Linked DNA regions of Homo sapiens: all the other regions are linked to region 3. Evidence: promoter capture Hi-C in 16 types of primary human blood cells and fetal thymus (Javierre and others, 2016). All regions are on one chromosome and are shown on one strand. Each heading gives the region's core, a stretch centred on a gene start or on the middle of the fragment in contact. The rest is flanking DNA. Distances are from core to core; before and after follow the strand shown. Region 1 has its middle 18 kb from the start of LINC00301. Region 2 overlaps LOC105369321 (a long non-coding RNA gene). Region 3 holds the start of MS4A12 (membrane spanning 4-domains A12). Region 4 overlaps MS4A7 (membrane spanning 4-domains A7).

Evidence for each region. The method cuts DNA at HindIII sites, captures the fragments that hold promoters and counts their contacts. A CHiCAGO score of 5 or more calls a contact.
Region 1: a fragment that was not itself captured here is called in contact with the fragment with the promoter of MS4A12 in region 3 in 2 of 17 cell types (naive B cells and total B cells); the score reaches 5.9 in naive B cells.
Region 2: a fragment that was not itself captured here is called in contact with the fragment with the promoter of MS4A12 in region 3 in 4 of 17 cell types (total B cells, naive B cells, M2 macrophages and 1 more); the score reaches 14.9 in total B cells.
Region 4: a contact is called between a fragment that was not itself captured here and the fragment with the promoter of MS4A12 in region 3, in 1 of 17 cell types (total B cells). The highest score is 5.7, in total B cells.

What each region holds. Positions count from the first base shown.
Region 1 is chr11:60,594,165-60,601,311 of GRCh38, forward strand. It overlaps the pseudogene MS4A19P. Among named protein-coding and RNA genes, the nearest start is that of LINC00301, 18 kb to the right of the region's middle. The HindIII fragment of the contact is 7,883 bases long and covers 1-6,072 here.
Region 2 is chr11:60,607,164-60,614,229 of GRCh38, forward strand. It overlaps LOC105369321 (a long non-coding RNA gene), which reads right to left. Exons shown (of 6, transcript XR_001748240.2): 5 at 4,081-4,244; 6 at 1,132-1,301. It also overlaps the pseudogene MS4A19P. Among named protein-coding and RNA genes, the nearest start is that of LINC00301, 5.1 kb to the right of the region's middle. The HindIII fragment of the contact is 7,080 bases long and covers 2,122-7,066 here.
Region 3 is chr11:60,487,389-60,494,259 of GRCh38, forward strand. It overlaps MS4A12 (membrane spanning 4-domains A12), which reads left to right and starts at 5,390. Exons shown (of 7, transcript NM_017716.3): 1 at 5,390-5,440. RefSeq lists enhancers at 3,636-4,375, 4,376-5,113. The HindIII fragment of the contact is 5,161 bases long and covers 3,238-6,871 here.
Region 4 is chr11:60,383,253-60,390,338 of GRCh38, forward strand. It overlaps MS4A7 (membrane spanning 4-domains A7), which reads left to right. Exons shown (of 7, transcript NM_021201.5): 2 at 1-36; 3 at 1,836-1,970; 4 at 3,465-3,521; 5 at 6,138-6,344. Among named protein-coding and RNA genes, the nearest start is that of MS4A7, 8.3 kb to the left of the region's middle. RefSeq lists an enhancer at 6,245-6,314. The HindIII fragment of the contact is 3,483 bases long and covers 3,757-7,086 here.

The DNA of each region.
Region 1 (7,147 bases), core at 881-3,380, 100 kb after region 3:
ACCAGTAATAAATATATGACAGATATTAATCCACCTCTATCAATAATCACTATAAACACCAGTGATCTAAATGCACCTATCAAAAGACAGATTTTTGAAGAGTGAAACAAAAAACAATATTCAACAATATGTTGTCTACAGGAAACCTGCTCTAAATATAAAGACACATATAGATTGAAAGTAAAAGTATGGAAAAAGATATCACATGTTAACACTAATTATCGCTTCTCGGCTTTTAGGCTAAGATCAAGTGTAGTACATGTGAACGCTAATTGAAAGAAAGTAGGAGTAACTATATTAACTTCAGACAGAGCAGATATCAGAGCAAGGAAAATTATCAGGAATAAAGAGAGGCATTGCATAATGATAAAGGGGTCAATGTATGTGGCCAACAGCAAAGTGATAAAATACATGAGGCAATAGCTGATAGAACTACAAGAAAACATATATGGATCCACTATTAGAGTTGAAGACTTTAACTCCTGTGATTAATAAAGACATTCTGCAAGCAGAAAATCAGTATATACAGAGTTGAACTCAACAGCACTGTCAATCATCTGGATATGATTGACACCAATGCAATACTCATACAATAAAATAATACATTTTTCTCAAGGACACTTGTAACAGCCCCTAAGATAGACCATGTTCTGAGTCATAAAATACATGCTAGTCGATTTTTAAAAATAAATATTGTACAATTTATGCTCTCAGATCACACTGTGATGAAAATACAAGCCACATTAGAAAGGTAAGAGAAATGATTTCACTTTGACTATGTCACCTCTCCACAACAATGGCATAGCACCCACCACACAGAAAGGATTTCCCTAGGCCCAAGATTTCTACAAGGGAATAAAGAGGGCGCCCGTGGTGGACATCCAGCTTCCCCAGCATTCTTGGGTGTGTTGCAGGAGGCCCACCTGCCAAATGGGGAACATTAGAAGTATCAGCAGGGGTAGACTATGTGGTGTCAGCTAGAAATAGAAAGTTGGGGCCCACAGCAACCAGCATGTGAATCTTGGCTGTGGCTCTGTATTCTGGTCAGCAGAGGCACCTGACCAGAGAGATTAGCCAAAAGCATCTCTCTGCAGGAAGCACAGTTGAGAGATTTGCCAGGCTCAAGTCTTTGTCTAGCTTTGACACCCAGCATCAGAGCTCTGCATAAGGCTCTCCCAGGCTGAGAAGCAGGTCTGCATTTGTACATTACTACAGAGTGTACCTTCTGGCCCAGCTCAACATGATTAGCTAAGCAGTAACCCAGCCTCAGAGACCTGCATAAGGATTTATCAGGCTGGGAGGCAAGCCAACATATGAGCATATCTGTGAAGCAAAGCATCTGGCTCTGCCTGACACTAGCAGTTGAGCAGAGGCCCCATCAATCTTCAGAACCCAGTCGGAGGTTCTGTCCAGACCCAGGCGGGGAGGGAATCCTATGACTACACATATCTGTGGAATATAGTCTCTGACCCTGACCATTTCAAATAACATTTTCATAATTGAATTTATAGAAGGAAAAGAGAGAAAGCAAGAGCAAGCATATTTAAGAAAATAATGGCTGAAAACTTTTCAAATCTGGAAAAAGATGGCAACATGCAGATACAGGAAGCTCAGAAGTCTTCAACCAAATTAAACCCAAAGAAGGGTTAACCGAGACATATCATGTTCAAACTAACAAAAATCAAAGACAAAGAATTCTGAAAGTAGCAAGAGATAAGAAACATATCATATTCAAGAGGGTTCCAATACAGCTATCGGCAGACTTCTCAGCAGATATCATGCAGGCCAGGAGAGAGTGAATAATATACTTCAAGTGCTGTAAAAACAACAACAACAACAACAACAAAAAAGTCAACCAAGAATGTTTTACCTTGCAAAGCTATTCTTTTTTTGACTTTTTTTCTTTTTTCTTTTCTTTCTTTTCTTTTTTTTTTTTTTGACACAAAGTCTCGCTTTTGTCACCCAGGCTGGAGTGCAATGGCGTGATCTCAGCTCACTGCAACCTCCACCTCCCAGGTTCAAGCCATTCTCCTGCCTCAGCCTCCTGAGCAGCTGGGATTACAGGCACCTGCCATCACGCCTGGCTAATTTTTGTATTTTTAGTAGAGATGGGTTTCACCATGTTGGCCAGTCTGGTCTCAAACTCCTGATCTCAGGCGATCCACCCACCTCAGCCTCCCAAAGTGCTGGGATTACAGGCATGAGCCACCGTGCCCAGTCCTTGCAAAGCTATTCTAAGGAAATAAGGGAAAAATTAAAATTTTCCCAGATCAAAAAAAAAAAAAAAAAAAAAGCTAAGGGGGCTCATCATCACTACACCTGCGTTACAGGAATCATGAAAGGGAGCTATTTAAGCTGAAACCAAAAAAAGACACAAATTCATAACAAAAAACATATAAAAGTATAAAACTTGATGGTATAAATAATACGGTCATATTCAGAATATTCTACTACTGTAATGGTAGTACATAAAGCAATTTTATCTCTAATATGAGTGTTAAAAGACAAAACTTTTTTTTATTTTATTTTATTATTATTATACTTTAAATTTTAGGGTACATGTGCACAATGTGCAGGTTAGTTACATATGTATACATGTGCCATGCTGGTGTGCTGCACCCAGTAACTCAAAAGACAAAACTATTAAAACAACTATAACTACAATAAACTAAGGGATACAAATTACAAAAGATATACTTTTTTGACATCCAAATAACAAATAGGGGAAAAAGTAAAATGTAGACATTTTGTATTGAAAGTTAAGTTGTTATCAGCTTTAAAAGCCTGGTACGACTACAAAATAATTTATTTGTGCCTCATGGTAACCACAATACAAAAACTTATAATACTTGCACAAAATATAAAAACCAAGAAATCAAATCATACCACCATAGAAAATCATCAAATCACAAAAGTCAGTAAGAGAGGAGGAAAGAAACAAAGGATGGTTTAAAAAGAAAATAAACCACAAAACAGCAATGAGTTCTTATATATTAATAATTACCTGGAATGTAAATTGATTAAATTCTCCAATAAAAAAATTAAGTAACTAAATGGACTGAAAAACAAAATGCAACTATATGCTGCCTACAAGACACTCGCTTCACCTTTAAGGACACATATAGGCTGAAAGTGAAGGGGTGAAGAAAGATATTTCAAAAAGTGGGCGAAGGATATGAACAGACACTTCTCAAAAGAAGACATTTATGCAGCCAACAGACACATGCAAAAATGCTCATCATCACTGGCCATCAGAGAAATGCAAATCAAAACCACAACGAGATACCATCTCACACCAGTTAGAATGGCAATCATTAAAAAGTCAGGAAACAACAGGTGCTGGAGAGGATGTGGAGAAATAGGAACACTTTTACACTGTTAGTGGGACTGTAAACTAGTTCAACCATTGTGGAAGACAGTGTGGCGATTCCTCAAGGATCTAGAACTAGAAATACCATTTGACCCAGCCATCCCATTACTGGGTATATACCCAAAGGATTATAAATCATGCTGCTATAAAGACACATGCACACGTATGTTTATTGCGGCACTATTCACAATAGCAAAGACTTGGAACCAACCCAAATGTCCATCAATGATAGACTGGATTAAGAAAATGTGGCACATATACACCATGGAATACTATGCAGCCATAAAAAAGGATGAGTTTATGTCCTTTGTAGGGACATGGATGAAGCTGGAAACCATCATTCTCAGCAAACTATCGCAAGACCAAAAAAACAAACACCTCATGTTCTCACTCATAGGTGGGAAATGAACAATGAGAACACTTGGACACAGGAAGGGGAACATCACACACCAGAGCCTGTCATGGGGTGAGGGGAGGGGGGAAGGAAAGCATTAGGAGATATATCTAATGTAAATGATGAGTTAATGGGTGCAGCACACCAACATGGCACATGTATACATATGTAACAAACCTGCACGTTGTGCACATGTACCCTAGAACTTAAAGTATAATTAAAAACAAAAAGAATTTTAAAAACTGAGAAAAAAAAAGAAAGATATTTCCTGAAAATAGAAGCCAAAAAGGGAAGAAATAGCATACTTAACACCACATGTCAACAAGTATGTGAAGAAAACAAGCCCTTCATATTGTCATTGGAAGTGTAAAATGACACCATGACCTTGTAAAAATATGTGGTCATTCATTCAAAATTTAAATATATACCTGCCATATGACCCAGCAATTCATTGCTAGGCACTTACCTCTGAGAAATAAAAACGTATGTCAAAACCAGAAAACAAAAACTTGCCTATATGTTTATAGGAGTTTATTCACAATAGCCAAAACCTGAAATTGAACTAGGCAAGAAAACTTTTATCTGAAATGTTTTAGTTATTTTAGAAATAAAGCCTGGGTTTTTTTAAATAAAGGTTAATAATTGATTATTTTCTCTGGCTGCAATAAAAGTATAAAAGTGTTGCTTAAAATATTCTTTATACCATCTCACTGGGCACGGTGGCTCATGCCTGTAATCCCAGCACTTTGGGAGACCAAGATGGGCAGATCACTTGAGGTCAGGAGATCAAGACCAGCCTGGCCAGCATAGTGAAACCCTGTCTCTACTAAAAATACAAAAATTAACCGGGCGTGATGGCATGTGCCTGTAATCCCAGCTACTTGGGAAGCTGAGGCATGAGAATTGCTTGAACCTGGGAGGTGGAGGTTGCAGTGAGCCAAGATCCCATTACTGCACTCCAGCCCAGGTGACAGAGTGAGGCTCTGTCTCAAAAAAAAAAAAAAATGTTTATATGGTCTCTATTTTCAAAAATTACTAAAAAACAAACAAAACTTCATAGTAGATGGCAGGGTCATAGAGGGTAGCTTATCCCATGCCTCACACTTTTTTATTGCATCTGGCTCTCATAGTGCCCCTTCATGCTCTTCTTTCTTAATTTTTAATAGCTTTATTGAGGCATAATTGACATATAATAATCAATAAGCTGTACATATTTAAAGTACACAATTTGGTAAGCCATTAATACAATAAGACAGTGCATATGTTACCTCCAACAGTTTTCTCTGCCCCTTTGTCATCCCTCTTGCTTATCCCTCCTCAAAACCCTGCCTCCCCCAGGCATCTACTTATCTGCTTTTTATCACTACAGATTAATTTGCATTCTCTAGAGTTTTATACACATGGAATAATACAGTACATATGCTTTCTTGTTTCACTTATTTCATTCAGCATAATTATCCTGAGATTCATCCATGTATATAAATTATCAATCCCTTTTTTATTTCTAAGTGATATTCAATTTTATGGATATATCACAATTCATTTATCCATTCACCTATTGATGGAACTTGCATTGTTTCCAGTTTTGAGCTTTTACAAATAAAGCTACTATGAACATTTACAAGTCTTTGTACAGACGTATGCCCTCATTTCTCTTTAGTAAATACCTGAGTCATAGGATATATGCATGTTTAACTTTTCAAGAAACTGCTAACCTGTTTTCCAAAGTGGTTGTAGCATATTACATTTCCACTCACAGGCTGAGTATTCCAGTTCCTCCATATTTTCACTCTCTTCTTACAGTGCACTTATTGTATATCTTTTTGTATTAATGATTTATCAAATTGTGTACTTTAAATATGTCCAATACCACCCCGAGAGCAGGAATCAAAACAAGTGTTTCTGCTTGTTTTATTCAGATAAGTTTTTCCCAGAAAAACTTCATGCTCCAGAGAAGAACATCTGCTCCGTGGGGTCTTATTCATGCATTTCCTCAACAAGGTGGCTCTTTTCTAAATAAAAACAGATTATTTTGACATAGCTATTGCCTACTGTATAGTTGAGAAAATGAAATATTTACCAAATATACTTCATTTTAAAGACTGGATTATGTCAACACGCCAAAATTTACTAAGCAATACAGTTGTATGTTTACATAATAATAAACATTTTATTTTAATTTGTCTTTCTTTAAGGGAGATTTGTTACAAAAGAATAAATTAGTTGAGATCACTATACAACATACAACAGCAACTTCAATAAACACATCCTTTATCCAGTGAAACTGGTTTCAGAATTCAGTAGTTTAAGCTTTTGTAGTTATTATCTAATTCATATTAGATAGAAGGAAATATACATATCTTTTTAAATTTAACTTTTATTTTAAGTTCAGGGGTACATGTGCAGGTTTGTTATACAGGTAAACCTGTGTCATGGGGGTTTGTTTTACAGATTATTTCATCACCCAGGCATTAAGCCTAGTACCCATCAGTTATTTTTTCTCATCCTCTCCCTTCTCTCACCCTCACCCTCCAATAGGCTCCAGTGTGTTGTTTCCCTCTATGTGTTCATGTGTTCTCATCATTTAGCTCCCATTTACAAGTGAGAACAGGCGGTATTTGGTTTTCTGTTCCTGCATTAGTTTGCTAAGGATAATGGCCTCCAGCTCCTTCCATGTTCCTGCAAAGAAAATGATCTTCTCCTTTTTATTGCTGCATAGTATTCCATGGTGTATATGTACCACATTTTATTTATCCAGTCTACCATTGACGGACATTTAGGTGGATTCCATGCTTTGTTATTGTGAATCATGCTGCAGTGAACATACACATGCATGTGTCTGTATGACAGAATGATTTATATTCCCTTGGATATATTTCCAGTAATGGGACTGCTGGGTCAAACTGTAGTTCTGTTCTTATGTCTTTGAGGAATCACCACACTGTCTTCCACACTAATTGAACTAATTTACACTCCCACCCACAGTGTATAAGTGTTACTTTTTCTCTAAAACCTTATCAGCATCTGTCATTTTTTGTTGTTTTTTTTAATTATTATTATTATACTTTAAGTTTTAGGGTACATGTGCACAATGTGCAGGTTAGTTACATATGTACACATGTGCCATGCTGGTGTGCTGCACCCATTAAGTCGTCATTTAGCATTAGGTATATCTCCTAATGCTATCCCTCCCCACTCCCCCCACCCCGCAACAGTCCCCAGAGTGTGATGTTCCCCTTCCTGTGTCCATGTGTTCTCATTGTTCAATTCCCACCTATGAGTGAGAACATGTGGTGTTTGGTTTTTTGTCCTTGCGATAGTTTACCGAGAATGATGATTTCCAATTTCATCCATGTCCCTACAAAGGACATGAACTCATCCTT
Region 2 (7,066 bases), core at 4,412-6,911, 120 kb after region 3:
AATGAGTTTAGAAATTTTAAACTACTTGCTCAGAGTCACGTGGCTAGTCACTTACAGATCATTTTTTCTAATGCAGAATGGTTTTAAATTCTAAATTATCTTACCCCACAAAATGGAGCTTTTACAAAAATCAATTCAGTGGCACATCAAAGAATCATTTTGCTGCTGCGGAGAATGCTAATATTTTATGACACATACCCTGATGGATACCTTAAAGTGGTATCTTAAATAAATAGAAACATAAAGATATTGCTTAAGATTATATTTGTATAACAAGAATGGCTCATTTTATTGGATTGATCTTTAATTATGATCTTAACTCTTTCATTTTTCTAATTTATCTCTTAAACTATCATATTCATATTAGTAGGAAATCCAGAATCTTCCTTCTGAGGGCCCCTCCCTGTTGACCCTCTCAAGTTACTCAAAACCACTGGGATCCAAAGGTTCGATATTGACTCCAAGCCCTTAGTTAACAGAGTCATGTAGTACCTCATCAGTCCACCAGTGTGCCCTTAATTTCCACTGCTATGGTTCAGTTACTATTAAATGACGCCATTATTTAACACTGATTTGAGTAGCCCATGGTGACCTTGTCATAAAAGTGCACTGAGTACTGAAGAGGCTTGGGCTTCCAATATTACGGATTCTGTATTCTTGTCTCTAACCCAGCTATACTGTCAGGATATGGGTCTATTGGAGCTTATAGACAGAGGCACAATCCCAGGAGGAAATTCCTACCCCCAGGTCACATCAGCCCTTGTGTTGAGTCCAGGTTACAAGTCCAAACATTCTTTTCTTTCATTGTTTCTCTTTAGTGTCCTTTCCTATCAACAGGGCAAATTTATGTAAGTTTCTCTATTAAATAAGTTCTATAACACTAAACCTCAAGGGTGTCACAATTCCATCTTCCCCAGAGATTTATTGGACTCAATGAAAATTTCCTGTTATTATCCACAACAATAAACAGGAAAACACAATCAATGATTCTCATCATACATTTGGCAGAAATATATCAGTATATCATCATCCTCAATAATTATCCATTGTAATTACAATTAAAAAATATTTAAAATTCTATTGTTGAGGGTGGAGGATAGGGTGGGTAGTTTTTCTCTTCTATTTTTCTTCTTCAATTTTAAGATACCTTTATTATTTCTAAAGTGCTCACATAGAAAGATCTGTAAGGAATGTACATTTTCTTTGTGGATACAGAAAAGTGGCAAACTCCTTTCGGAATATCTGTTCATATTAACCATCTTGGAGTTGTTTGTGGCAAGTATAGTCAGCCACTGGGCATCCTAAGCAAAAAAGAGAAGAAGATAAAGATGCAGTGAGTATCCCATTTTTCCCTTAGTAGATCAGAAGATGTTGTCTTCTGTTATGAACACTATTTGAATAACTAAGGTTTTGATATGAATTAAGTATAAATAATGCCATCACTAAGCTGTGATTGTAGATAGCTGAAAACACTCGGCACTAACTGTCATGCACTTATATGGGTCCCTCCACAACTGAATAAATAATTTTCCCTTTTATAAAGGTGTTTTGCATTACAGGATGCTTTTATGTCCATAACATATGAGAGAATAAGGTAGAAGATATGTGATTTTCTGGCTCAGGTCTGTTTAATTCTACAGACATTACCCTGGAAACAAAAAGCTTTGTAGAAGTTGTTACCAGGCACGGGGATATGGGACTACTGAAGACTGAAGCCTTTATTTCTCAAAATTTGGGAGAACAAGTTGAATATCTAAGTGTAGAACTTTAGTGTCTTCAGAAACCAAGATTTGGGAGTAATGGAGAAGTTGAAAAAGATGGTAAAGCCTTTTTTCAATAAAGCTATTTTCCTACTTTCTCCATATCAACTACTTCACGTCTAAAGGAAAACTTAACCTCCATTTGACCTCACTAAATCAGAGAACTTCAATCTCACTAAATCAGAGAACTTCAGTGAAAGATATGCCTGCCCTTTTTCCCCAGTACCCACTCAACAGGCCGAGGCTTAGAGATCTATGAGATCATAAAAACAACTGAGAAGGAGACCACAGTTAACACAAAGAAGAAAGTGAGTTGTCCATATATCCTAGACCACATGTGTAGAAAGGTTTAGGAAATTTAAGCTTCCTCCCCATTTTACCACTTTCTAATCTCATCTGTTTGACCCTTTGACCTGCCTTCTTACCTGGGTCTTACTTAATCTCTTCAGGTTGCTGTTCTGTCCCTTGACTTTTCCAACTGTACCTCTATAGTTTTTGTATAGGCAACACCATATATACCTACAGCTTGGTAGATGTATACCATCTATAAATTTATAATAATCCAAATGTTAAATCTCCACCCTAGACCTTTCTACTGAGCTCTAGGCTCATATTGCCAACTTCTCTCTAGAGAGTTTGATTCGAAGGATTCCAAAGCACCTCAAATAAAACATATCTAAAACTGAACTAATCATCTCACCCACAAAGTCATTACCTTGTCTTTTCCATTTAAGAGCACCACCATCTATCTACCTGCCTGCCCTGGCGAGGGAGCTGAGAAATACTCTCAAATTGAAACAATTTGACAATCCTTTTTACATGATCCCCTAAATGTATTTCAATTCTGTCCTCTGTTTCTTCATCTCCCCAAATGAAAGTTTAAACAGGAAACACTTACCACACGAAAGCCTGATATTCTAGCACAACATTCATTTCTGTAATAATTTAGCCCAATCTACTTTCTTGACTTCATTTCCTACCACTCACGCCCATAAATGCTGTGCTCCAGCCTCACCAATTTACTTATCATTCCATAAATATGCCTTGTTAAGTTTACCATCTTAATTTGTAAATAGCTTTGTTTAGGAATCTCTATTTTGAATTAAACTGATAAAATGAATTAGGAGGGAGAGGAATTTATCATATAGATTTCTTTTCTTGTATTTCCCACTTTCTCTTGACACTCAGAGGCTACATCTTCATTTGTACTGCAAAAGTCACTTGCTTTTCAAAACATGTGAATTAGCTATAATTCCAGATGAATTAGGGTATTGAAAACCTGTTATCTGGATCACTGATTGCCTTTCAATGAATCTTCTTTAAGTAAGGTATTAAAATGGGGAGCTGAAGTTCCATCTAAAGGTATTCAAACTCGAAATCTCAAAAAAATATGGCTCTAACTAAAAGCAAAGTAAACAAAACACACCAAACACACACACACACACACACACACACACACACACACACTCACAGAGGTCTTATTCTTAATTCTTCTCTGAATAAAGTGAAAAGAGAACAAACATGGATTGGGTATATAAGAACATATAGATTTCTACTCCAACTAAATAGAATTTAAACTGACAGCTATTCAATGCTATACTTAATAATGTAATCAAGTTTGAGTAGAAAACAATATGCCCTTTATGATCAATCATTGTCTTGGGGACTGTCTTTTCATATAGCATTGTCTTTGGCTTTCAATCTATAGAAACAAAAAAGAAGGGAGGATGGAAACCAGGGAGAAAGGGAGAGAGGACAAAGAAAAAAACTAAAAAGTATCAAAAGCACATGGTTTAATTTAAAAATCTCGCCTGGTGGGGTGGTTCACACCCATAATTCCAGCACTTTGAGAGGCTAAAGCAGGGGAATTGCTTGAGCTCAGGATTTTGAGACCAGCCTGGGGAACACAATGAGACCCCATCTCTACAAAAATATAAAATAAAATAAAATAAAATAAAATAAAATAAAATAAAATAAAATAAAATAAAATAGTAAAGTAAAGTAAAATAAAATAAAATAAAATGCATAAAGTTGAAAAAATTACCCAGGAGTGGTGGCACATCCCTGCAGTCCTTAGCTACTTAGGAGGGGAAGGTGGAAGGAGGGCTTGTGCCCAGGAATTCAGAGTTACAGTGAGCAATGATAGTGCCACTGCATTCCAGGCTGGGTGACAGAGACCTCATCTCTAAAAAAATAAATAAAATAAAAATCTCAATGAGGAGAATACTTCTATTAGAATTATTTCCAAAATTCTAACCCAAATTCTATAGTTCTTTATTTTAGAGTGTGCTAATGATCAATTTACTGATATCTAACTTACCTCAGGTTCATGGCAGAAGGAGATCCTTTCTCTGCATATTAAAGAAACCATCAGTGAGCTCAGTCAAGGAGGAAAGTTTAGTGGCAAATGAAGAACTTCATTCTGTTCAAGAGGCTTCTTGGAAAATGTAATTTCATTAAATCCATCTCAGTATTCTCTTCCCCCTATTTCATTAATAAAAATTAAAATTGATGAATATGGTTATTTTTGTCTACATGAGGAACTGTGCATGAATTTATCTCAGTTTGAATATGGTCAGCCTGAGTTAAGGGATTCTTCCATACAAGAGAAGTTCTATGAATGGGCACATGTTACTAGAGTAGAATCTATACCTAAAATTGATAATGATGTAATAAATGCTAACTCGAGAAAATTATTTCATTGTGAGAAGGAGACTTCGCATAAATGATAAATAATCCCATTGCTTGTGAAGGCTTCTTTGCTTATTAGCTCTAAATACTACTAATTATTTCTTTCTCACTGGATATTATTAAAACATGCATAGCTTACCTACAGTGAAGAAGGTATATTACAATTAGCCATATCTTTATGTTATTGAGACTACATGAATTAATAGCTACTGGATTTAGTTTGTCTAGAAAGTCCAGCTCCCAAAACGTTACATATTTTTGCCTATAATTTTACACTGTGGCTTATCACACTCAAATTTTAAGCAAATTATCTTAGAAATGTTTTGTTGTGTCTATAAGGATGCTTCCTATTTTTTAAATTTTCTTTGATCTCCATACCCCACTCCCCCTTCCCTCCCTCCATGAGCAATTGTTCCACTTTATAAAACATGCATATTTTATTTGTCAGTATCTCCCCAAAAATGTATGGCATTCTATTGTAGGAATGTATCTGGAATCCATGAAGTTCATACACACCCATAAATTACATGCACAAACTTTGCTCCTCCTAACAGTAAGTTTTAAAGATCTATCCGTGTGGCTATCAGTACCTCTATCAGTTGATTTTAAATGCTGCCTAAAGTCTGTGCCATGCACCCCGCACATTTATACATTCGCTGTCCCAGAAATGGGCAACTGGGTTCCCCCCATCTTGCCCCTTAAGTAATTTGGGGGGATACAAATTCAAGATTAGAGTATCTGTGTTATTTACATATATGCCATTTGTTTATGAAGTGCAAAAATTTCCACCATTTAGAACAGTCTTCTGTTGCAGGTCCTTTATTATTGTGTGTTTTTCTTCAGTCTAGTCTGTATACTTTTGTTCTCTTAGGAATTCACAGATTCTGGTTCACCAAGAGAGTTGCTTCTTATTTTTCAATGTGGCAATGGAATTTTTTTTGTAAGTGTGCTCCTTGGAATTGGAGTTCATATGAAGAATAAGTAGCATCTGCTTGGTCTACCTTCATGAACTAAAAACCACAACTGTGAGAGAGACTTGCATAAATGTATGGGTTGAGAAGAAATACAAAGCAGGGAGTAATATTTGAATATACTGGGGAGAAAGAGATAATTGATGGATTAAGGTTTATAAGCCCTTTGAAGGACATGAGATTAGTAGCACAGGGACAGATTACACTTTAGAATAGAGGAAAGACACCTAATTCTGATCAAGTAAGAAAATAGTGAAAAATTAGCTTTAATGTAAATGTTCTTTATCCATTCCTCCATATGAGAAGGATAAGAAAGAACATGAGAGACTTTGTCTTTCCTTTGAAAAAATTGACAAGGCAGTCATTTAGGAGTGAGGGGTGGTAATGAATAAAGTACTTGTTTGGATTAAGAGTTGCCAGGAATCAGAGGCAAAATTGGCCAAATTATACTCAACGATTTAATTAGAAGCACAGATGAAGATACTGGACTTTCAGATGACATCTTTGTTGGGTGTCTATCCATGCCATTGTGAGAGTTTCCCTAAAATATCCTACACAGAAAAGGTGGCATTACAAGGTGGCAAACTTGCATTTGTGGGTTTTAATAAGATGATAATTAGTGGATCTGTGGGATCCAGGCTGAATGAGGAAGGATATGATGCCAGAAATTTTGAAAGAAATGTAGAGATTGGGGGCCAATAATCTGAAAAGGGGCTGCTAACACCTAAGATGCCTTTGTGCAAACTAGACAAAAGTACCCCGTTCAAAAGGACAGATTGCTTAATAACAGCTCCTCTGGGAAAATGAAATAGAAGGTAAGTCCCCTCTGAACAGTACAATTAGAAATTGAGGCCCCTTCCTCCTAGCTAATCAACCCAGCACCAAGGGAGTCTGCCCTGCAAGTGGAGACCAGGTGCAACTGCAGCCCCAATCTTTGACCCCATTTACATGCATCCTTGAACAAGGTCCCAGCTTCAGAGCCTGAGCTAGTTTAACACAAAGAACAGCTCTAGATAGGGAGTCATGACATGGCAGATCTGAAAGATATTTGTTTTTGATCACAGAGCAGGATATCACAATTGAGATACCGGAGAGAATGAGCCGCAAATGTAAATATAGGGTAGCTCCTCCATTTATTCATACATTCATCATAAACTACTTTTTGACAATCTACTTTGCACCAGGCATAATTCTTGCTTCTGGCAACAGATTTAAACAGAAGAGACAAGATCCTGCCTTCAGGGAGCTTATATTCTAGGGAGAGGAAGTCAGTGACACTATATGGACCATGCACTGGTCAACAAAGCAAATACATAAAAATTTAAAAGGCCAATCTCTCCTTCCCCCATAAAAAAAAAAAGAAAAAGAATCATAGTCACCCTTGGAGGGTGTTCATTATTTCAAAATTTCATAAGTAAAGAGATAAAGCACACATCTTGCCTTTCATTTTTGTAACAGTTTCATTGAGATATAATTCACATATTATAAAATTTACCTATTTATTTGTGGGTTTTTTTGTTTCTTTGTTTGTTTTTGAGATGGGGTCTCGCTCTGTTGCCCAGGCTGGAGTGCAGTGGCGCAATCTCAGCTCAGTGAAAGCTATGCCTCCTGGGTTCACACCATTCTCCTGCCTCAGCCTCCCAA
Region 3 (6,871 bases), core at 4,140-6,639:
AACTGCAGGTAAGATTAAAGGGCAAAAACAAACATTAGAAGCTTAGAAAAAGAGCATTTAACAACTAGCAAGAAAGTGGTTGATGATTTTGATATTCCACATCTGCAATAAGTTATTACCAATCACCGTATGAATTTTATATTTTTTTGATGGAATATAAAATTCAGAAGAGGTCCAAAAATGGAAAATTAATCTTTCTAGAATGCATTTTTCTTTTTCATAAATAAATTTTATTGTATATATTTAAATATACAATTTGATGTTATGAGATACATATAGACAGCAAAAAGCCTCTGTAGTGAAGCAAATTAACAAATCCATCATCTCAGTTACCTGTTTTTTCGTTTTTGTTTTTGTGGCAAGAGAAGCAAAATCTATTCATTTTGCACGAATTCCATATACATTACAATTTTATTACTTACCATCCTCATAGTGTACCTTAGATCTCTAGACTTGTTCATCCTACATATCTGCTACTTTGTATCCTCTCATCTACATCTCCCATTTCCTCCCCCAGCCACTCCTGCTAACCAACATTTTGTTCTCTATATCTGTATATTTGAAATTTTTTAGCAAAAATGATATCAAAAGAGAAGAACCAAGTTAGAGGACTGACACTATCCAACTTCAAGACTTACAGTAAAGCTACAGTAATGAAGACAGTGTGGTATTGGTGAAAGAACAGACAAATGGATCAATAGGTGAAATCAGCCAGACACAGAAAAAAATATATCGCATTATCTCAAAATCCATTTTTTGATCAAAAGGAAAAAAATTATAGACAGGATAAATTGTTAGCAGTGACTACCGATGGACTGAATATGTACTTTGAAAATATGATATCACTTGTTTTGTTATATATAAGAATTTTAAATAAATATTCTGGGTTTCCAGCCGGGAGCTGTGGCTCACACCTGTAATCCCAGCACTTTGGGAGGCCGAGGTGGGTGGATCACTTGAGGTCAGAAGTTCGAGACCAGCCTGGCCAACATGGTGAAACCCCATCTCTACTAAAAATACAAAAAGTAACTGGGCGTGGTGGCACACACCTGTGATTCCAGCTACTCAGGAGGCTGAGGTATGAGAATCCCTTGAACCCAGGAGGCAGAGGTTGCAGTGAGCTGAGATCATGCCACTGCACTCCAGCTTAGGTGACAAAGCGAGACTCTGTCTCAAAAACACAAACAAACAAAAATTATGTGTTTCTGAAATTATTCCAAAATTTATTCTGTTCCTGTCAACATACCTCTGTGAGACTGATTTCTCTATTAGGGGTATTGTTAAAACAAAACATAGAAACAGTTTAAAAATGCATTATCCTCTGCAAGTAGCACTGCCATCAATCCGAGTTAAACAAATTAATAAGCAAGAAGCAAGTTTATTTAAATAGTGGAAATTTAAAGAGTGATGTACACAATGTTTATTCCAAGTGTGTATTATAGACTTTTAATGCAGGAAATCAGTATTTCCTTTGTAATTTTTGTTTAGCTACAGTTTTGGAAGAGCCAAAAGCTATGTGTAATAGTGATTATAATAGTTGTGGATCGTTGTCAGATTTGTAATTCTTTTCTGTTTTCCCATGTTGAGATGACATTTATTAAAACAATTTTATGCCTACAGATTCTAATGAAAACTCTGGGCTTGAATTATTGTCTATCTTATTTTCCTAGTTGTTTATTTTTATTATATTTTACAAATGTGTTGGTCCACAATAAATTGAAAATTTTAATGGAAAAAATGGCCTTTCTCCACAGACTGTAAAGCATTCAGCTTTACGAGCATGTTCCTAAGCTAGGGATACAAAAGAGATTATGAAATGGTACTATAACTCCTGCCCTTAGAAGTTAGAGCATGTTTGAAGAAATCACAAATCAGAACACAACATAGAAGAATCACACTGTTAATGGCACTAACCACATGATTACAGGAGAGAACAGTGCAGAAGTCTTACCAAGATTTGCTGCATGGAGATGGGTCTGAAAGGCCAACAGGAGAAGGAAGGGGATTCTAGGTTTAAAAGACACTATTTCTTTTTTCTTTTTTTATTTTTTATTTTATTTTATTTTTTTGAGAGGGAGTCTCGCTGTGTCACCCAGGCTGGAGTGCAGTGGCGCAATCTCGGCTCACTCCAACCTCCGCCTCCCAGGTTCAAGTGATTCTCCTGCTGCAGCCTCCCAAGTAGCTGGGATTACAGGCGTGTGCCACCACACTCAGCTAATTTTTGTATGTTAGTAGAGATGGGGTTTCACCATGTTGGCCAGGCTGCTCTCAAACTCCTGATCTCAAGTGATCCACCCACCTCAGCCTCCCAAAGTGCTGGGATTACAGGCGTGAGCCACTGTGCCCAGCCTGACATTATTTATTTTCAACTTTCTCTTCCTGCTGCCTGGATAACATGAATAAGGTTGATCATGTTATACCTTTCCAGACAGTAATCATGATTCTGTGGGCTTTCAAAAACAATGCTTACTTCATTTTCCTTTAAATACCTTCAAGCCTTTCAGCAATATTATTGCCTGAAATTGTCATTTTCTTAAGCTCATAACATTAATAAATCTTCAGCATCTTTTTTCTATTTTAGAAAAATATATAAAAATGTAAACCCACAAGAGAAAGAAAACTCTCAATAATACACAAAAAAAGAAAAAAGAATCTGCACTCATGCCACCAACTCTTTTAATGTATATTTAATGAGCCTTAACATGTGTGAGACACTGTGCCATACATGGAGTTGGAGGTGGGGATAGATATCAGCCCCTGCCCCAAGGATCTCTGGTCTCAAGGTACTCATTTGTACCTGAGATACAACCTAAAATAAATAACTGGAATGTGACAGGACACTTCCAAAAAATAAAACAGCACGCCACTATTAAGAATTACAATAAATAGGCCAGGTGCGGTGGCTCACACCTGTAATCCAGCACTTTGGGGGGCCTAGGCGGGCATATCACAAGGTCAGGAGATCGAGACCGTCCTGGCTAACATGGTGAAACCCCGTCTCTACTAAAAATACAAAATATTAGCCGGGCATGGTGGCGGGCGCCTGTAGTCCCAGCCACTCCGGAGGCTGAGGCAGGAGAATGGTGTGAACCCGGGAGGCAGAGCTTGCAGTGAGCCGAGATCGCGCCACTGCACTCCAGCCTGGGTGACAGAGCAAGACTCCATCTCAAAAAAAAAAAAAAAAAAGAACTACAATAAATATGTTTATCGACATGAAAAGATATTTATAGGACATTAAGCTTAAAAGCAGGTTATGAAGTATATATACATTATGATCCTAACTTGATTTTACTATGTAAAATACATACATGCGCACACAAAAGTTTACAAATCAAAATGCAAATACTATCATTAATTATGTCTGCGTGGTGAGATTGAGTGCTTTTTCTCTCCTTTTTTTATTATCTGCATTTTCCAATTTTGTCCACCTAATTTAAAAGGCATTAAAATGCAGTATGGCTCTCCCTCTCCCTCTCCCTGTCCCTCTCCCTGTCCCTCTCCCTCTCCCTCTCCCTCTCCCTCTCCCTCCCTCTCCCCCTCCCCATGGTCTCCCTCTCCCTCTCTTTCCACGGTTTCCCTCTGATGCCGAGCCGAAGCTGGACTGTACTGCCACCATCTCGGCTCACTGCAACCTCCCTGCCTGATTCTCCTGACTCAGCCTGCCGAGTCGCCACGCCTGACTGGTTTTCGTATTTTTTTGGTGGAGATGGGGTTTCGCTGTGTTGGCCGGTTTGGTCTCCGGCTCCTAACCGCGAGTGATCCACCAGCCTCAGCCTCCCGAGGTGCCGGGATTGTATACGGAGTCTCGTTCACTCAGTGCTCAATGTTGCCCAGGCTGGAGTGCAGTGGCGTGATCTCAGCTAGCTACAACCTCCACCTCCCAGCCGCCTGCCTTGGCCTCCCAAAGTGCCGAGATTACAGCCTCTGCCCGGCCGCCACCCCGTCTGGGAAGTGAGGAGCGTCTCTGCCTGGCCGCCCATTGTCTGGGATTTGAGGAGCCCCTCTGCCTGGCTGCCCAGTCTGGGAAGTGAGGAGCGCCTCTTCCCGGCCACCATCCCGTCCAAGAAGTGAGGAGCGTCTCTGCCCAGCCGCCCATCGTCTGAGATGTGGGGAGCGCCTCTGCCCTGCCACCCCGTCAAGGATGTGAGGAGCGCCTCTGCCCAGTGGCGACCCCGTCTGGGAGGTGAGGAGTGTCTCTGCCCGGCCGCCCAGTCTGAGAAGTGAGGAGCCCCTCCGCCCAGCAGCCGCCCTGTCTGAGAAGTGAGGAGCCCCTCCGCCCAGCAGCCGCCCCGTCTGAGAAGTGAGGAGCGTCTCCGCCTGGCAGCCACCCCGTCCAGGAGGAAGGTGGGGGGCCAGTCCCCGCCCAGCGAGCCGCCCCGTCCGGGAGGGAGGTGGGGGGGTCAGCCCCCGCCCGGCCAGCCGCCCCCTCCGGGAGGGAGGTGGGGGGCGCCTCCGCCCAGCCGCCCCTTCTGGGAAGTGAGGAGCCCCTCTGCCTGGCCATCACCCCGTCTGGGAGGTGTACCCAACAGCTCATTGAGAACGGGCCATGATGACGATGGCGGTTTTGTGGAATAGAAAAGGGGGAAAGGTGGGGAAAAGATAGAGAAATCAGATTGTTGCTGTGTCTGTGTAGAAAGAAGTAGACATGGGAGATTTCATTTTGTTCTGTACTAAGAAAAATTCTTCTGCCTTGGGATGCTGTTGATCTATGACCTTACCCCCAACCCTGTGCTCTCTGAAACATGTGCTGTGTCCACTCAGGGTTCAATGGATTAAGGGCGGTGCAAGATGTGCTTTGTTAAACAGATGCTTGAAGGCAGCATGCTCGTTAAGAGTCATCACCACTCCCTAATCTCAAGTACCCAGGGACAAAAACACTGCGGAAGGCCGCAGGGTCCTCTGCCTAGGAAAGCCAGAGACCTTTGTTCACTTGTTTATCTGCTGACCTTCCCTTCACTATTGTCCTATGACCCTGCCAAATCCCCCTCTGTGAGAAACACCCAAGAATGATCAATAAAAAAAAAAAAGAGACTATAAACATAATTTGAGTGTTTAGAAATTTAAAAATAAAATCCCAGTAAAAAAAATAAATAAATAAAAATAAAAATAAAAAAATGCAGTATGATATTGCAATGATTGAGCATTAGAAAGCTGGAGAAAATAAATACTAAAGTGTTTGGGAGGGTCACAATAGGCTTCCCAGTAAAAATTAGAGGAGGATGTGAAAGCACAGCGTATTCCAAACTTTACAGTTGCATTTACATCTCTTGAGGTGAAAGAGAAATAACCATAAAAGGACTCTGGAACTACATAAAGATACAAGACAAATTGGTTTGGAGAACGGAAATAAAATCTACCTATAAAATCCAGGTAAATATCTGATACTGGCACACAGGTTGGAGCAGAGAAAGAGGAAACATAGAGGTGCCAAAGGAACAAAGTAAGTCCATTGATACGTTCTTGCCTATCTCTCCTCCAAATCAATGGGCACAAACTGTGGCTGGTCTACCTGTGTGGGTTCTGTTCTCTAGATTGGAGGGATGAAGACAAGTTCTTGACTCTATGTTGAGGCCAGTTGAAAAATGAGGGAGAATAAAACCATGAACGAAACAAGAAAGAAACAAAACAGAAGAGGAATGAAAAAGTAAGTTGGTTGCTGTACAAGAGATAAAACGGACTGCAAAAAGAAAAAAAAAGCTAATGCTCGCTGGGTGCGGTGGCTCACACCTGTAAACCCAGCTCTTTGGGAGGCCGAGGCAGGAGAATCACCTGAGGTCAGGAGTTCGAGACCAGCCTGCCTAACATGGTGAAACCCCATCTCCACTAAAAATACAAAAATTAGCTGGGCGTAGTGGCAGGTGCCTGTAATCCCAGCTACTCGGGGGGCTGAGGCAGGAGAATCACGTGAACTCGGGAGGCGGAGGTTGCAGTGAGCCGAGATCGCTCCATTGCACTCCAGCCTGGGTGACAAGAGTGAAACTCCATCTTAAAAAAAAAAAAAAAAAAAGCTAATGCTAAGAAAGGTGAATAATAGGTTCAACTGTATGCCATTCCATGAACATGGGCCCAAAAGGACGAGGCCATGCCCCACTGGGCACTTGATGATTATGTGGCTACCACAGGGACAACATAGAACACAGAAGTAATACTGGAGCCCTTGGCTTTGTAACACATTTTAATTAAGGTACTTCTTTCTGACAAGAAAACAATTAAAATTAAAATAGGTAGGGAAAGAACATTCATTTTCACCAGATCAGCATTTTGTGAAAGGTGATATAAGTGTATACCTGTGGATGTACTGGGTGATTTTGTGAAAATGATTCGGTTTCATGTTTTGCTTTATGCTATAAAGTACTCTTGAAAATAATAATCATCTTCACTCTGTCAAAAGTGAAGTTAGCATGAAAATGAGGTAGAAAGAAACTATAAAGAAGTAAATTTTTCCCATTTTTATTTGAAATAATGTAATCACAGAGCAAATTGCTGAGGTTTTCTCTAATTGCTTTAGTCTTATACTTTTGATCTCATCAGAGCTCCAATATTTTTATGTGTTCCTTGTTCTTAAAAATAATTGCAGTTGTTCTAATTCTTATTTTTAAAAAAAGGACAACTAGGGGTAAATATTTTGTCAACTGTCAAGAGAACAATCCTACTAAGTCAATAGGTGGAATCTATAAAAGGAGTCTATTTATTAGTTTCCCTTCTCATGTATCATTTACAGAATTGTCTTCATTTCAATTGAATAATTAAAGAATCAGAACTGGCTGGCTCTGTCTTTAATTCCTTTTATAAAACCAGAACTTGACCCAGTAAAAATGTATTCTGAGTCCTAATAACTATAGACCTAGCCATGAATAATCTGGGTTCTATG
Region 4 (7,086 bases), core at 4,248-6,747, 100 kb before region 3:
CAGAACGGGCTGCCAACAGAAACCACCGTTCTTGGGGTAAGTCCACCTCATTATAAGGGGAATACTGAGAAAATACTTTGTAAATGTATCTAGACTACAGATCTACAGTGGGTCTGGGAAACTCTTTCACTCTTTTCTGGCTGACTCCAGGCTAATGAGGACATGAAATGGAGCTTTAAGGGAAGACTCTTAAAGCTCTGCAGCAGTTTCTAGAAACTAAAACCACTAGATCTTTTTCACTAGCATGCTTCACAATTAACAGGTTAGTCTTTCTTATTTTATTTATTTATATATTTATTTATTTTGAGACAGAATCTCCCTCTGTCACCCAGCATGGAGTGCAGTGGCACGATCTCAGCTCACTGCAACCTCCGCCTCCTGGGTTCAAGTGATTCTTCTGCCTCAGCCTCCCGAGTAGCTGGGACTATGGGTGCACGCCACCACGCCCGGCTAATTTTTGTATTCTTAGTAGAGATGGGGTTTCACCATACTGGCCAGGCTGGTCTTGAACTCCTGACCTTGTGATCTGCCCGCCTTGGCCTCCCAAAGTGCTGGGATTACAGGCATGAGCCACTGTGCCCAGCCACAAATTAGTCTTTCTTATTTTGTCATTAGTACAGTAAAAATTTTCTATTTAACCATATGGATTTTACTCAATATGATTAAATTAACTTTGAGCTTATTTTTCAAATATTTTGAGATGAGACGATCAAGACTAATCTCATGACCCATTTTTCCCCGTTCATATGAGTAACTATAAGACATCCAAGTGTCCCAGATCATCATCCCTCATATCCAGAACTTTAATCTCCATGTGGTTTTGAATACCCTCTTATAATACCCAGGTCCTATTCACTGCCTATTTAGATGGATCTCCCTGCCCTGTTTCTTTACAATCTATTCTTAGTACAGCAGGTAGGGTACTCTTTTAAAAATGAAAGTTAGATCATGTATTCTCCTGGCTCAAAATTATCCAGTGGGATTCCTTTTTTGCTCAAAATGAAAAGCAAAGTTGGTAAAACATAGCCTAAAAATCCCTACATAGTTTGTACCATGCCTCCAGTACTTCACAAGCCTCATGTCCTACTACTTTGCTCTTAACTCTATTCTGCCTTGCATGGAACTTGTCTGTACCTTTACAGACAAGACATAGTACACATATAAGCTCTCCAATGGTAGTGATTTTCATTTGCTTCATTCCCTCGTGCCTGGCACACAACATACCTGTTGTGGTATTCAATAACTGTTGATGATGTGAATGGTTGACTTCTTTTTTTATTTCTCCTATGTTTGCATCATCTTTCAATTGCACATGCATTAAACTATGAGCAAAAGCATGGGCTTTAGAGCAAGCTAACAGCTAAACTTCAGTTCTTCCACTTGCGAAATAATTATTATTAAAATCCAATGATGAACAAAATAAGATGAATTACAGCAGAAGAGATGACCTGCTCTATCTAATTTCAACTGAAAAATCTCTTCATTAACACTCCTGTGAAAAGTTTGCTCTCTATTTCCACCTCACTGGACAACTTTTTTATCTACTTTTCAAGAAAATAAATTTAAAAACTGTCAAGTATCTTTTTCAAAAAAAGTTAAAATGTGTGTATGATCACTTTCCGATTTGCTGGTTTAATAATCCTATCAGAAAAGAAGAGGTTAGCTATACATGACTTTCTCTAGAAGCATATCGATTGGCTCCTTGTAACATTTTTCCTCTTTAATATAACAAATTATAATGTATTTTATACTCTTTATACTTTACCGTGTGCATTCAAATAATCACTTTTATCTGTTTGAAGTGCAGTCTAGATTTCCTGTCTTCTCTCTTGTAGACTGTCCAGATCCTGTGTTGCCTGTTGATTTCAAGTCTGGGGGCCATCTTGGTTTTTGCTCCCTACCCCTCCCACTTCAATCCAGCAATTTCCACCACTTTGATGTCTGGGTACCCATTTTTAGGAGCTCTGTGTGTGAGTAGAATGGGGACTCTAAGAGGGGACATGCTTTATAAATGCTAACCAGGTGCATAGTCGTGGAGTGACTCAGACTCCAAGAGGCCAGGAGGCAAAAGGCGGCAAGGCCTCGACTTTCCTTCTATCATTGCCCCACGTCACATTTCCCCTATTCAAGAAGAGCAGCAGAGAGACTTAATCTGTCTTCCTGCAGAGCAGGGGGCAAGAGGGAATGGTAATACAATGGGTATACCAGCACAGAATTTCTTACCTGGCATTACAGCATACCTCTAGAAAAGTGGATGATTTTCCATATCCCTCTTTGAGGCTTTGATGAGGCCATTGGATTCCCTCCATTGTAAGAATAATCAACTTTTCAGGTAGAGAGTGAGAAGGCCATTTTTAAACAATAAAACGAGCACCACTGGTTGATGCCACAGGTTTGCAGAGATTTGGATTAACAAGGGTAAGATTCATGGGAGGCAGGGACATGCTTGCTGTGTGTCCAGAGGTAACCCTGAGCACTAGAGAAACTCTCTTTGCTGCCTTCCACCTAATGGCTCATGAAAAAGGGCCCAGTAGATCCATTTTTCAGAGAGTGGCCAGGGCAGACTCACACTTCCCACAAAGGGTTATTTCTTCTCCACGTAGTATTTGGTACAAAGGATAAAAATCAAATATTCTGGGCAAATGAACTATACTAAGGTACCACTTCTGTGTGGATACAGTCCCTGTGTGAACACAAACTGTGCAGTCACATAAGGAGGCCCTGGTCCTGCCCCAGAGCACAATTTGTCCTTGACTTCTCCTGTAACCAGTGGTTGTGGGCCCCACATCTCCTTAGAGAAGCTAGCGTTAGCTCATACTGGACCCTCTTTGCCTGTGATTATTCAATATCCAAGCCACACACTTAAGCAACTTTTCAGCTTCTCAGAATACCCTTCCTCTGCCAGCTGGATCTTTAATACCACTGAGATTAAATACTGATTTCTGGGGCTTTATGATAAAGACTTCACGTCTGAGCCTGCTCTTCCCACTTTCCTCGACTCCCATTCTGACTCAAGCAACATACACCAATAACTTCCAGTCCATGTGTTTCTGCACCTTGTCCCATCAGAGCCTCTTTCCTGAGTGCTTCTGTTGGCTGTTCCAATCTCTCTGTCCATTCAAGTCATTGGTCCATCTCAACCTCCTCTCTTTCAACCCTGTAATTTAGTAACACTCTTCTCCTTCCCAGGTACACCTTTTCTCCAGGCCTCCTCAGTTCCTAGTGATTTCCACTAAAACAAATCCAACCCCTCTGTGCATCTGCATGTCATTCAAAGTCAATATAGACATTCTTATATCAGGTGGGAATTAGGCCTATCTAGCAATATAGATCCACAAGATTTCTGCAGTGTTCTCTCCCTAAAAGTTTTCCAACATCACTTTTTGATTGAGTGATTGACAGTGACATGGTGGGCACATTTCCACAAGACAACTGAACTGATCATTTCTCTCTCTTCTGGGCAGTTTGGCATTACTGGATCCCTCTCAATTATCTCTGGAAAACAATCAACTAAGCCCTTTGTAAGTATAAGGACCATCAAATCTCAGCTGGTTGGAATTGAAGGAACGTCAGAGTTAATTCTTCTAGTTTAAAAATCCCTATTTTACAATTTAGAGAGAAAAAGCTTAGAACAGGCTAGGAAGCCCAGGTTTTCCTGGCTGTCCCATTGGTAGAACCAAGAGTAGAGCCCAAATTTCTTGCCTTCTAGACCAGTGCTCTTTCGTCTACACAATGTTGCTCCTGGATTATATTCCAAGCTTGGAGGAGGTTTACCTCAGTTATTTAAAAAGTGTACATTTTTAAATGTACCATGGACTCTTTATAGCTTGTAACCTTGACCTTGAATAAGGTAGCCACCCATCCCAGAGAGAGCCTACAGATCCTTTTTTCTATAAAACCTGCCTCTTGGGGTTCTTTTTGATGCCAAATGTCCCCATTCATAGAGTTGGGACTTCACACAAATTCTAGCCCTTCAGCGTCAGGGTGACCAATTGTTTGGTTTTCCCAGGACTGTCTCAGTTTTAGCCCAGAAAGCCTATATCCTGGGAAACCCCTTACTCCCCAGGCAAAGCAGAATAACTGGTTTACCCTACTCTGTGACCGTGGTAACAAGTTGAAAGAAGTCCATGATATATTTTCAAAGTTCTACTATTTAAGCAACTGAAATAAACTTCTTTCAGTCAAATATCAGGTGGGGAGGCATTCATTCCCCTGTCAGAAGAGGGTGTTGCCGTCTTCATCCAGGCTGGAGGAGACTATTTCCATCCAAAGACTCATGCTTGATAATTGGATGTTTGAGAAAAAAAATCAGTTTAAAGTAAGGTGGGAGAAAATGAGGGTGATGGAGTAGGGGTGAGGGGGATGTCTGCAATGTCAGCACTGATTGCAGCACCAAACTCAAAGACAATACCACTCATGCCACTGCCAACATACCCCTGGCTTCCTCAACAACTTTAGAATTATTATATTGCCCTAAGTGCATCTAGAATATGACCTTTGGTCCCTCCCTAGAAACCCAATGTATGTCTTCTTACTTAAAAGAGCGGCTTCAGAGAAAAGACAAAAGCAAACTGAAGAAGTTGGAATACCTACCTACAGGTGGATCAGGCCTATGAGAACCACATTCACCACACCATTTCCCAACTCCTCTTCTACATTTTAGGAGACAGGATTCTCCCATAGCATGACGATTCACTAGCAAAGACACTGATGTGCCAGGCTCTGTGCGAGGTTTCCAGCACATGCTCCTCTCTGTTTAAGCATCACTGGAAGACAATGTATGTTGGGAAGGATGGTTGTCCTGCCCTTTTCTACTCCAGCTCTGTAGCTATATGGATTCATGTGCTGAGTCTTTGAAGGAAAAGTAGTCCCAGTGGGCAGTATCTTTGCCCAAAGCTACCATATGAGCAATGGAGCCCACATGTTGTTCTTTGTCCCACTTGTGGAGCCCACATTGTTGTCAAGTCCAAGCATAGATTTCCCTTTCTGTGTATTCAGTGCATTTGGGAAGCCACTTCTGAGATCAGAAGATTCATCTTCCACATTTTATAAAAGAGATAACTGAAGCCCAGAGTAAGAAGGACTTGCTCAAGCACACAGATGGATCAGTGACAGATGGGTCAGTGACAGAGCTGGGATAGGAGGAGAGGATTTCAGTTTCTAAGTCCAGAACTATGACTCCAACCAATGAATGCTGTGAACTCTTCAAAACCCTCTTCCATAATCCTGGGTTCTAGACTGCAGCTTCAATCATCAGGAGCATATACCAGCCTCATGCACCATCCATGTGTCCTCATCTGTGCCTAGCCAGGCCCTGTATCTTCTTGAGTCAGGATGTGGCTTTTCCCTAAATCACCTCTATGGGTGTGTGGCAGGGAAGAGAGAAAGGCTGCTACGGAGAGAAGCAAAGGCTTTATAGCTGCTTCCTCCCTTTCTCCCTCCAAGGTTTGTGGGAAAAGTGGCTACAGTCTGATAATATTTCTGTTTGTGAATGGGTGGAGAGAGAAGCACAGGGTCTAAGCCCATGTGCCTCTGCCTCATGCCCTGTCACTTAGGAAAATCGAAGGCATATGCTTGTCATATTGAACAAATATTGATTGTCAATTCAAGATCAATTGCTTGTCAATTGAAAGCCTATTTTATGTTCCCACAGACCTATAGATAGGTTTTCCAACTTTTCCAGTTTGCCTCCACCTTTTCTCTGAAGCTGCTCTTTTATGTAAATCAAAGTCATGGATTCAGTTTACCAGAGGGGACCGAAGTCCATATTCTAGAAGCCCTGAAGGCAACAGAATGATTCTAAGGCTATTGAGGAAGTCATGGGAGATGTTGGCAGTGACCTGAGCAGCACTGTCTCTATCTTGAGTGCTATAGAGAGTCAATGGGCCAGAACCCCTCTCCCTAAGGAGGAATTATCCATGCATTTTCTTATTCAATAAGCATTTACTAATTATATCACATGATTAACTAAATAGCGACAAGAGATACAAAGATGAATAAAACACAGTTTGTGCCCACACAAGGAAACAGGAAGGAAACAGACCCAAGGAAGCACCATTGCAGTACAATGGACAGAGGACTAATAGTGTCACGTGCTGATTCTGTGATGAGAACCCAATGCAGAGTTTCTCTTCCAGGACCTGAGCAGCTTGACCTCAAATGCAGTGAGTTCTGTTACTGCAGGAGCAGGCCTCTTCCTCCTTGCTGACAGCATGGTAGCCCTGAGGACTGCCTCTCAACATTGTGGCTCAGAAATGGATTATCTATCCTCATTGCCTTATTCGGAGTACTATTATCCAATATATGAAATCAAAGATTGTCTCCTGACCAGTGTCAGTTTAACAGTGAGTAGTTTCAGACTGAATATCCTGTCATGTGAAATCTCTGTGTCTCCCCTTTGCATACTCTCTGCTTTTCTGGCAGTCTCTGGTTGGTCGGTCCGAATGCCTGGAGACAGACAGAAATAAACAAAAACTTGTGGTTGGAAGAGGCCTGTCTGCTGACTGCATGGTGTGGGGGATGTACTATAGAAAGTCAAAAGAGGAAATCATGAAGGACAGTAGGGAGTCTATCCCTCCACTGGTCTTTCTTAATCACAAACGTTCCAACCTTAATGGGTTTAACTCTTAAAGTACAACCTTTGTTGTACTCATCACAGGCAGAAATATTCTTCCTACTCATCACAGGCAGAAATATTCTTCATTTGAATTATATTTTAATTTGGGATTCTTTTGGGTTCTTTTCCAGGGGTTGGATGCCCCTACCCCTTAAAGATGCTTGTCTTCTGATCATCAGTGAATTGAGGACTAGCAGAGGCTGTACGGTGTTTAAGTTAATCTTCAAATGCAAGCCTGTATGCTACATTATGTTAGGCACAAAACTTGAACCTTAAGTCCAAATACATAGTTATTTTGTACTTTGGTCTAACAGGGCTGACAGAGAGTGGTGGGAAGGGAGACAACGGATTTGACTTCTAGAAAAAATGTCAACCTCTCTGGGCAGCATTTTCTTGGCACCTTTCTCCCAAACTTGATGATCACTACCTGTTCGTGGTGACAAGCCTTGCTTATTCAATCCTATAAATAT